Regions from separate parts of the Homo sapiens genome. Here region 2 is linked to region 1. The links are contacts of gene promoters, found by promoter capture Hi-C in blood cells and fetal thymus (Javierre and others, 2016). All regions are on one chromosome and are shown on one strand. Each heading gives the region's core, a stretch centred on a gene start or on the middle of the fragment in contact. The rest is flanking DNA. Distances are from core to core; before and after follow the strand shown.

Region 1 (5,635 bases), core at 1,379-3,878:
CACCCCACACTAGCCCCCGCTGTACGAGATGAGCCGGCCCCGCATGGGAGGGCAGGGAGAGGGCAGTCTCCACCCCAATACCTTCCCCAGGACACCCGACGCACAGTGCGGAGAAGCAGGAAGGCTCTACACCAGACCCCACCGGCCTGTGGGACAGGCCAGCAGACCTCATGGCCTGGGCTTCCTCATCTACAGCAGCTGGTCGGGGGGTGGGGCATGTGGCCACTCAAGTTCGCTTGTACCTGCTCTAAAACTCTATGATTTTAAGACGACACTCCCAGTTTCCTGAAACTGTAGGAAAGCGGAAACATGACGAGTCTGTGACTTATAAAAAGCAAAAATAAATAGCGGGGAAAGGCATCTTCCATTCGCGGAGAGCAGGGAGGGTGGGGACGGAGCGGTGAGTCACTGTTTACTGTTGAAAGGCGGCCACACGGAGCCCTCTCTCAGCTGGCCAGATTTCCATTTCCCGTGTGGACTGGACCCGAAACCCAGAAAGTCCACTCCAGAAACCTTTAGACTCAGAAACAGCTGGGACAAGAACAGGCACAACTTCTTCTCCGTCTGGGTGGCAAACAGCTTTGCCAGAGACTGTAAACAAACGCAGCCATCGCTGAGCCCCGTGGGTGAAAGCACACGCCTTGTAGACAGCGAAGTGGCCCGGAAGACGGTCTCCCTTAACAGCAGCCTCCCGGGTGCACACAAAGGCTGGCGCCCCGACAACCCTGACCCTCGGTAAACGCTGGCTCCCGGGTTTACCAGCACCTGGGGAGTCGACGCTGCGGGCAACCAGCCCCTCAAAGCCCTGGCTCGGTTCAAGGATAAAAGGCAGGAGAAGCCTGGTTTTTCTGCTTTAATAAATGTCTTATTTTGGAATAATGAGAGGTCTAGTTTTAAAAGCAGACTCCCTCTCCCAAGGTCAAACTCAGACATTCCTACTGGGTTACCTAAGAAAGGGAGATGTTCTCATAAATGGCACTGGACGCCCAAATAGGGTGTAGGTGTGTCCCAGACACCTGCACAGCCCACCTATGTTCTCCAGACCCCGCCCACGGCTCTTTTAATGCTCCATGTCCCTGAAGACATTGGGTTTGGAGAAGCTGCATAGGGCACCCCACTCTGTGTTGGAGAACCCCTTACAACAACACACCGTGACGGTGAAACCTCAGTGCCAGTAAAGAGACCTGGCAGCCCACCCTGGAGAATCAGAGGGGTGGGAAGGGCGCTGCCAGAGCCGAACCACACAGATATCCCCTAGACCACGATGGGGGGCGGTGGGGGGCGTTTTGAGTCTCAGGATCTTCCCAAGGCCAGGCACCTGGCCAGAGATTGGCTGGCTGCCTGTGGGTCACCTGGTGAATGAATGGTGAGTGGATCTAATTTCTGCCTCAGCTACAAGAGCTACTTAAGAAGCAAGAAAACAGCATGCTCAGGGACGCAGGACACCAGGAGAGGGACACGGGAGGCCCCGCGAACACGGACACACACGGTGTGAGCGCGAGAATGCAGTGCAGGGCCACTGCTGTGTCCCAGGCGGACCCAGGTCAAGGGCCAAGGCCAGGCGGGGTCCTGGCTTTCTGGGTTTCTCGGTGGCGCCTGGTCCCACCCCCCAGGATCTAGAGGCTGTGCAGACGCAGACACACACAGTCACGGGCACATACACAGTTTCCTGAACTTGACAGAGGCACAGAAGAACTCACGCAGTGGGAGCGGGAAGAGGCCGGAGCCCCTGCCCCACACGTGAGCAAAGGGACGAGCCTTGGGGCCACTGTCACCTGCCCCCCTCCCGCCTCCCCACGGCCTTCCTTCCAGCAACCCTGGCAGGTGGGCGGCTGAGAGCGACACCAGTCCCAGGATCCCGCCTGTGGGGAGACCCGGTTACCCCCACCCCGTTCCCGGGCACGCGTGACCCCAGCCACTGGGCCAGAGCGCCGCCCGTCACCGGGAGGAAGCGCGGGGGGCAGTCCGGGGCCGCACGCGGAAGCCACGCTGGGGCGGAAGCCGCGGAGAATCCACGCGCCCGCGCCCTCCCCGCACCGCCCGCACGTGGCGCCCGCCCCGCCCCGCCCCCCGCAGGTGTGAAGGCGCGGGCCCGATGCGCGCCGCCGACCCGCGTGGATCCTCGTCCTCCCAGGTCTGGGGTCCGCGCCCTGGGGCCCCCGGCGCGGCAAGCATGGCCCGGGCGGCACGTGCAGGGGAGAGAGCCTCGCGTCCCGGGGAAGCCCCCGGGCCTGCGGGGCGGGGCCCACCTGGGCAGGTGCCCGGGCCGCGCCGCGGGCCGCATGAGGGTCTCGGGCCCCGCGCACCCAACCCCGCCACCCTCGGCCCGCGCCCCCAGGCGGCCGTGACTCAGCGGCCAGGTAGCCCCGGCCCCGCGCCCCGGTCCCCGTCCCCGCCGCGGCCCGGGCCCCGCTGCCCCACCGCCCCTCACCTGGCGTCGCGCGGAGGGCGCGGGCGCGCGGCGGCTCCTCGCGGGCACGCGCTGTCCTCGCGCCGGCGCTCACTGTCGCGCTCCCCTCGGCCGCCGCCGCCGCCTGGCGCTCGGGCTCCGACTTCGCGAAGAACAACAAGTGCCCCCGCGCCGCCCGCCGCCACCGCACCCGCCCGCCCGGCTCCCCAGCATCTGACACCGCTTCCGGGATCCGCGGCGCGCGCGTCACACCGCCCTGCCCCCCGGGCCACGCCCCCTCCCCGCCCCGCGGCCACGCCCCCCGGCCACGCCCTCCTCTCCCGCCCGGGGGGCCGCTGGCCCCGCGCGCACCTGCAATCCCCGCGCTTTGGGAGGCCCTGCGGGAAGATCTCTGGAGGCCGGGAGTTCAAGACCAGCCTGGGCAACATAGCGAAACCTCCCTTCCCCCATTCTCTGTCTCTATAAACATAAAAAACATTAAGGCCAGCTGGGAACGGTGGCTCATGCCTGTAATCCCAGCACTTTGGGAGGCCAAAGCAGGAGGATCGCTTGAGCCCAGGAGTTCCAGACCAGCCTGGACAACACAGTGAGACCCCCATCTCTACAAAAAAATTACAAAAATTAGTCGGGCGTGGTGGTATGTGCCTGCGGCCCCAGATATTCAGGAGGCTGAGGCAGGAGGATGGCTTGAACCTGGAAGGTGGAGGCTGCCATGATTTCATCACTGCACTCTAGCCTGGGTGACAAGGTGAGACCCTGTCTCAAAAAAACAAAACAAGCAAACCAGCAATGTAAAAATGGGGATAAGCGGCTAGTGATCACAGCCTCTGTGGGTGGGGCCAGCCCCCTTCTAAAGCCCCAGCTGGTGGTTGCCAGGGGACACAGCAGGCCCAGGATGGGGTTAGGGCACCACTGGCCCAAGGAGTCCTGTGAGGGATCCTCAGGTGGGGGCGGGCCCCTGAGGGAGCTGCCTCTGCTTCCTGTCACAGGTGGAGGACAGGCTGGAGAGGGGATCCGTCTGGAGCCCCTTGCCACGCTTCTGGGTCCCCAAGTCCCGCCCCCCTCTGAGCGCTGCAGGAAGAGGAGTTTCAGGCCTGGGCAACCGAGGGCCCCCCAGGACACCCATGGCATCTGCCCGGGGTTCTGGGAAGCCTGTTTTCTCAGCTCAGGTGGGACCCGGGAGCCTGTTTTCTCGGCTCAGGTGGGACTCAGGAGCCAGTGCAGGGAGGTCTGTGCATCTTCTGGGTGTCGTCCTTACCACCATGTGGCTGGGGATTTAGGCAGCAGCCCAGTGGCCTCTTGCTGTGGAGCGCGGGGGCAGCCTCCCGGGCCATCTCTCCCCCCCACTTGCGGGTTCTGCACTGGCCACCTGGGAGGCCCCTCCTTGCTAAGGCCCACACGGCCGTCTGGGGCAGCTAGCCACAGTGATGCCTGCAACCTGGCCGCAGAAACAGGTGCCAAGAAATAACTCAACAGCAGCAGTAGCGACAATGTCCCACGTCCCCAGGATGTTTGCAGAAAGACATCCCCCGGGGATGGGAAAGGTGCTTCCCTTGTCCTGGCCCACACTCTGCACTCGGGGTCCTGGGATGCGCTGGGAGCCTCCAGAGAAGCTGTGGCCATCTCCGCGGGACTCTTTACGTTACTCATGGTGTCGCTCCTCTAACCCAAATGCATTCTTTCCATAGCAGGCTTTTGTTACTAATCACACACTTTTATTATCTCTTTAATTTTTTAATTTGTATTTATTTATTTCTGAGATGGAGTCTCACTCTGTCGTCCAGGCTGGAGTGCAGTGGCACCATCTCGGCTCACTGCAGCCTCCGCCTCCCAGGTTCAAGTGATTCTCCTGCCTCAGCCCCCTCGAGTAGCTGGGATCACAGGTGCCCACCACCACGTCTGGTTAAATTTTGTTTTTGTTCTTGTTGCTGTTTTGAGATGGAGTCTCACTCTGTTGCCAGGCTGGAGTGCAGTAGCACGATCTCGGATCACTGCAAGCTCCGCCTCCCAGATTTAAACAATTCTTCTGCCTCAGCCTCCTGAGTAGCTGGGACTACAGATGCCTGCCACCACGCCCGGCTAATTTTTTTTTTTTTTGTATTTTTAGTAGAGACGGGTTTCACCATGTTAGCCAGGATGGTCTCAATCTCTTGACCTTGTGATCTGCCTGCCTCGGCCTCCCAAAGTGCTGGGATTACAGGCGTGCGCCACCACACCGGCTGATTTTTGTATTTTTCGTAGAGACGGTTTCACCATGTTGGCCAGGCTGGTCTCGAACCCCTGACCTCAGGTGATCCACCCGCCCTGGCCTCCCAAAGTGCTGGGATTACAGGCGTGAGCCACTGCATCCAGCCTAATTTTTAAAATTTTGAATTATTTATTTATGTTTGTTTTATGAGACAACATCTCACTGTCGCCCAAACTGGAGTTCACTGGTGCAATCACAGTTCCCTGTAGCCTCCACCTCCCAGGTTCAAGTGATCCTCCCACCTCAGCCTCCTAAGTAGCTGGGACCAAGGGCTGGTGCTACCACGCTTGGCTAATTTTCTTTGTTTTTTTTTGTAGAGACAGGATCTTGCTCTGTTGCCTAGGCTGGTCTTGAACTCCTGGGCTCAAGTGATCCTCCCGCCTCGTCCTCTCAACGTGTTGGGATTACACGCATGAGCCACTGTGCCTAGCCAAAGTTTACTTTTTATTGTGGTAAAGTAAACATCACATAGAATTTACCATTTTAACCATTTTTTTTAAGTTAAAAAAATATTTTTTCAGAGATAGGGTCTTGCTACGTTGGTCAGGTTGGTCTTGAACTCCTGGCCTCAAGCAATCCTCCTACCTCAGCCTCCCAAAGTGCTAAGATCACAGGTGTGATTAGGTGAATAGGCTGGGCATGGTGGCCATCACACTAGGCCAAGTTAACCATTCTAAGTGTACGGTTCGGTGGCGTTAAGTACATTCACGTTGTGGTACAAACATTGCCATCATCCATCTCCAGAAATTTTTCATCATTTAGTAGTTCCTTTTGTAAAAAAATGTTAAGTTCTGGCTGGGCAAGCTGGCTCACGCCTGTAATCCCAGCACTTTGGGAAGCTAAGGTGGGTGGATCACCTGAGGTCAGGAGTTCAAGACCAGCCTGACCAACATGGAGAAACCCTGTCTCTACTAAAAATACAAAATTAGCTGAGTGTGGTGGCGCATGCCTATAATCCCAGCACTTTGGGAGGCTGA
Region 2 (5,153 bases), core at 1,577-4,076, 880 kb before region 1:
CAGGAAACAGAGGCTGCAATGAGATCATATCACTGCACTCCAGCCTGAGTGACAGAGTGAGACTCTGCCTGAAAGGAAAAAAAAAAAAAGTGCTCAGAATCTCTGATAAATGACCACAACGACGAGACAGCATACAGAGAACAATGACAATAACCAAGAGGAAATCAGAGCAAGGAAACCCTCCCTGTTAACAGGGCCTGTGCACAGAGGCAGGCGAGGGCCGCCATTCCATCAGAGCAGAAAGCCCATCTGAGACTGTTCCCATTTGGGTCAATTCAATGCCACACATACATATCCATGAAAGAGTGAAATCATTCCGTGAGGTGAAGTTTATTAAGAAACTCAACAGTCTCTGTCCCTGCTTCCCTTTCTCACCTCCGCCCTTCTCCATGATTCTTTTTTTTTTTTTTTCTTTGAGACAGGATCTTGCTCTGTCACCCAGGCTAGAGTGGAGTGTGATGGCTCGATCTCAGCTCACTAAAATCTCCACCTCCTGGGCTCAAGTGAAGTGATCCTCCCACCTCAGCCTCCCAAGGAGCTGAGACAGACACAGGCCACCATGTCTGGCTAATTTTTGTATTTTCAGTAGAGACAGGGTTTCGCCATGTTGCCCAGGCTGGTCTTGAACTCCTGGACTCAAGCAATCCTCCTGCCTCGGCCTCCTGAAGTGCTGGGATTACAGGTGCGAACCACCACGCCCTACCCGCTCCATAATTCTTTTTAGCTAATTCTTTTAATGTCTGCCTTCAGAGTGAACCTTGGTTGTTCAGCTTGGGGCATTAGCGACTGACTTCCCAAGGCGACAGGCGAAAATGCAGCGCTCTCCTCCCCACACCTTCTCTGCCCAGGTGCATCATAATTTCAATTAGAGCAGCAGTCAGTGTTTACATAAATTACTATCATTGCGGCGAGGCTATCCACAGCTGCGCCTTGTAGTACACCATAATTATTTTTCGTTTCCCGCACGATGGTTTATTTTCCCTGGAACTAATAACAGCCTTGTGTTTTCATTTGCTTTGTTTAGTACTTATCACTAATCCCGCCCCAACTCTGCCAACTGTATCAACTCCTCTCCAGATGCTGCAGCATGTCAGGTGTCCTGCTAATTTCATCTTCTCCCAAAGAATCTCCTCTTGGAGCCTCTGACCAGCTGGGGTCAGGACATGTCTGCTCTTCACACCAGCACCTGGCTGGGATTTCCCTTCAGCAGGTTCTTCTCACCTCTCACCTGGGGGAAATCCTGTTCCCACCAGCCAGTCTCTCTCAGTCTAGACTTACTGCCTCATCTGGGGAGACTACATCTGCCAATCACCTCCTTAAAGCATGAGGAACAAATCTGGGAGCAAGTCTGAAGTTGTCTTTACCCTACCCTCCCTTGCCTGAGTGTAGACTTCCAGGCTGCAAATGCATCCTTCAGAATTTCTCAAGCAAGGCCCTCCCGTCTCCTGCCACCCAGTGCTGCTTTGAAAAAGCCCAAGCCCTTCTGCTTCTTTTCATTTTAATTGTAGTTAGTTCTTCTGCCTTTTTCCACATGTTCTAACCTTCTGCCTCTTGACCTGTGATGACCTATTTGTGATTTGTTTTTACTTTCTCCTCTTGTTCTGAGATTTCACAACAGTATGTCCTGGAGAGGGTACGCAAGGATCTTTTTTTTTTTTTTTTTTTTTTTTTTTTGAGACGGAGTCTCACCCTTGTTGCCCGGGCTGGAGTGCAATGGCATGATCTCCACTTACCGTTACCTCCGCCTCCCAGGTTCAAGCAATTCTCCTGTCTCAGCCTCCTGGGCAGCTGGGATTACAGGCACCTGCCACCATACCTGGCTAATTTTTGTATTAGCCAGGGTTTCACTATGTTGGCCAGGCTGGTCTCAAACTCCTGGCCTCAAGTGATCCGTCCACCTCGGCCACCCAAAGTGCTGGGATTACAGGCGTGAGCCACAGCGCCTGGCCTCTGAACTCTCACTATCCAAATTCTGGGGTCAACAGCTGCAGACATGCTTTCAAATAAATCCTTCCCCTCCCAAGCTCTCACTAGTCTTTATCTGAAACTCAGCCTCTCTCACTATCCAAGTTTGCTGCCCAGACTTTTAATTTTTTAAATTTTATTTTTGAGACGGAGTCTCATTCTATTGCCCAGGCTGGAGTGCAGTGGCACGATCTGGGCTCACAGCAACCCCCGCCTCCTGGGTTCAAGCAATTCTCCTGCCTCAGCCTCCTGAGTATGGGATTACAGGCACCCACCACCATGCTTGGCTAATTTTTGTATTTTTAGTAGAGATGGGGTTTCATCATGATGGCCAGGCTGGTCTCGAACTCCTGACCTCAGTGATTCACCTACCTCCTAAATTGCTGGGATTACAGGCATGAGCCACCACACCCAGCCTTCCCAAGCTTTTAATATCCAAGCTGAGAAGTGAAGAGGCTATGAAAGTGAAGGATACCTGCATTTTCACCCGTGGTACTGGCCACTGGGTGAGCCTCTTTAACCCAGAAAGTTTGGGTTCTAGGAAATTATTTTGTGAATTTCATCCTGTTTTCCCTATTTTTTTCTTCTGGAAACTTTTTAAAATGTATTTTATTTTATTTTTTAGAGATGGGGTCTTGCTCTGTCACCCAGGCTGGATGGCAGTGGCATGATCACAGCTCACTGCAGCCTCAAACTCCTGGGCTCAAGTGATCCTCCCACCTCAGCCTCCCAAGTAGCTGGGACTACAGGTGCACACCACCACACCTGGCTAATTTTTAAATTTTGTTGTAGAGATGGGGGTCTTGCTATGTTGCCCAGGCTGGTCTTGAACTCCTGGCCTCAAACGATCCTCTCACCTCAGCTTTGAAGCTCTTACTATTCAGCTGCTGACTTCCTGATCTGATCCTTTCCGTTTCTTTTTTCTCTCATTTGCCACCTCGTTGCTTTTCTGTTCTACTTTCTGAGGGAGTTCCTCAACTTTATCTTTCACCCACTAACTGATTTTCTTATTTCTGCTTTTATTTTTTTTTTTTACATCCGAGAGTTCTCTTTTTGGATATTCGAATACTCCTTTTGGTGGCTTTTTTTTAGAGCTTCCTGTTCTTGCCTCATGTTCGCGATATTTTCGCTCACCTCCGCGTGGACATTAATGACAGCCTGCTTTCTAAGGCTCCTTCCTGCACGCTCTCTGGTTTCCCAGTGTGTATTCTGGTCTCAATCTCCTGTAGCAGAGGTTTTCTTCAGATGCCCTTGGTTATCTGCTCATATTTAAGGGATGGGGATTTTTAAAGCTTGATGCCTTGAACACTGGGAGGGGGTTATTAATGACGGGCTTCGTTAGCAAGGGATCCAGCTGGGTCTGCTGACTGGGGACCTCCTGATGTCATTAATTTTAGGTCTTTTCTCTTGGGCTACTCAGATTCCCCAAAGACACATCCATCCTCCTGTCTACAGGGAAAAGCCCCAGCTGGTCATGTTCTGGGAGCCAAAGGGTCCCTGTTCGCTTCCTCCTCCTGTGCCCTGTTCAGCACTGCGCCCCCACCCCATACTCAACCGCGCCCCCACCCCGTACTCAACTGTGCCCCCACCCCGTACTCAACTGTGCCCCCACCCCGTACTCAACTGTGCCCCCACCCCATACTCAACTGTTCCCCCACCCCGTACTCAACTGTGCCCCCACCCCATACTCAACTGTGCCCCCACCCCGTACTCAACTGTACCTGTCTCCCATTCTTCTCTGAAATATCTTTAAAGTTTCTAAACAGTTACAGAAACCACCACCTTAACAGCAGGAAGTAATAAGTTGGAGAGTCAATTATCTCCAGGCACATCTGTGGGCCAGGGCTGGAGAACCACAGTCCCGCCTGCAGCCACAGACCCACTAAGCAAGTGTGAAACTAACAGCTACTCTCCGAAAAGAAAGACAACTTAAGAATCGAAACTCAAGATGTACGGTTTTTTTAAATGACAAACAAGCCGCATGTGTTTCAGTATCATCAATAACCCGTCTTTTCCCACTGATGGCTCCTTCAGCCCCTGACCCACACTAGAAGAGAATCACCTGCCAGCCTCAATGACTGTGCGTAGTCAAGGAACTGCACGCCCAAGGTCAGCCAACCAACGGGCCTCTCTTCAGCTCTGGATCCCTTCCCACTGGGGTTCCTGGGGATTCCCTCCTTGTACAGGCTGTCTCTTCTCCACCAGGTCACATCTCCTCCAGGATGGCCACCAATACCGCCAACTCTGCAGGTCTAAAACCCACGTGTGTTTGTGTGGCCCTTCCTCTCCCACCTGGCCGCAGCGCTCCTCATCGCAGGTGAGAAGTCCCGGCTGCCCTCGCTGTTACAGGTCGCCACATCTCACAAAGCGCCACCGCCCAGTGGATTTGGCAACATCTTTCAGCTCCATGCCCGCCCCCACTCTCTCACTGCCCCAGACCCACGCCCCACAAGGCTACTCAACTCAGCTCCACTGCCCAGAGGCAAAACCCACCTCCCATATTCTCACCACGACCACTTTTCTGAAACACATCTAATCGCGTCGCACCCAAACCACCACCAAAGGGATAAAAGTTTAAACTCCCTCACACAGCATTCAGGCCCCTGCACAATCAGAAACCCATCTTTCCAGTCTTTTTTTTACTCTGTTGCCCAGGCTGGAGTGCAGAGGCCCAGTGTCGGCTCACTGCAACTTCCGCCTCCAGGTTCAAGCTATTCTCTTGACTCATCCTCCTAAGTAGCTGGGACTTCAGGTGTGCACCACCACGCCCAGCTAAATTTTGTATTTTTAGTAGAGATGGGGTTTCACCATGTTGGCCAGGCTGGTCTCGGACTCCTGACCTCAGGTGATCCGCCCGCCTCTGCCTCCCAAAGTGCTGGGATTACAGTCACGAGCCACCTCGCCCGGCCTTCCAGTCTTAGCTTCCAACCCAATCCTCAAACCCCACTTCATCAAGAACACGGCGACCCACCATCTCCCCCAAACATCACTTTCACTTCCACATCTCTGCATGCCCTTTGCCTCCAAACGCCCCAATTCATAGGTCCTCTCCACTGTGGAAAATGTCGGAAAATGTCGCCACATTCTGTTAACGCCTGCACCACAGTCTCAACTCCACACAGTTGTAGCCAGGCTGGCCGTGAGCTCCCAGGGCAAGGCCCACGCTATTACCGGCATCTACCCCAGCT

Evidence for each region. The method cuts DNA at HindIII sites, captures the fragments that hold promoters and counts their contacts. A CHiCAGO score of 5 or more calls a contact.
Region 2: a contact is called between a fragment that was not itself captured here and the fragment with the promoter of MAFK in region 1, in 3 of 17 cell types (naive CD4 T cells, total CD8 T cells and naive CD8 T cells). The highest score is 6.2, in naive CD4 T cells.

What each region holds. Positions count from the first base shown.
Region 1 is chr7:1,527,695-1,533,329 of GRCh38, reverse strand. MAFK (MAF bZIP transcription factor K) reads right to left here and starts at 2,628. Exons shown (of 3, transcript NM_002360.4): 1 at 2,432-2,628. It overlaps LOC100128653 (a long non-coding RNA gene), which reads left to right. Exons shown (of 1, transcript NR_149036.1): 1 at 1-877. RefSeq lists enhancers at 143-252, 223-517, 443-592 and silencers at 1,909-2,038, 2,529-2,798. The HindIII fragment of the contact is 17,285 bases long and covers 1-5,635 here.
Region 2 is chr7:2,404,884-2,410,036 of GRCh38, reverse strand. All of the region lies in intron 1 of CHST12 (carbohydrate sulfotransferase 12), which reads right to left. Among named protein-coding and RNA genes, the nearest start is that of CHST12, 3.8 kb to the right of the region's middle. RefSeq lists enhancers at 1,113-1,232, 1,243-1,302, 2,940-3,059, 3,910-4,029. The HindIII fragment of the contact is 867 bases long and covers 2,393-3,259 here.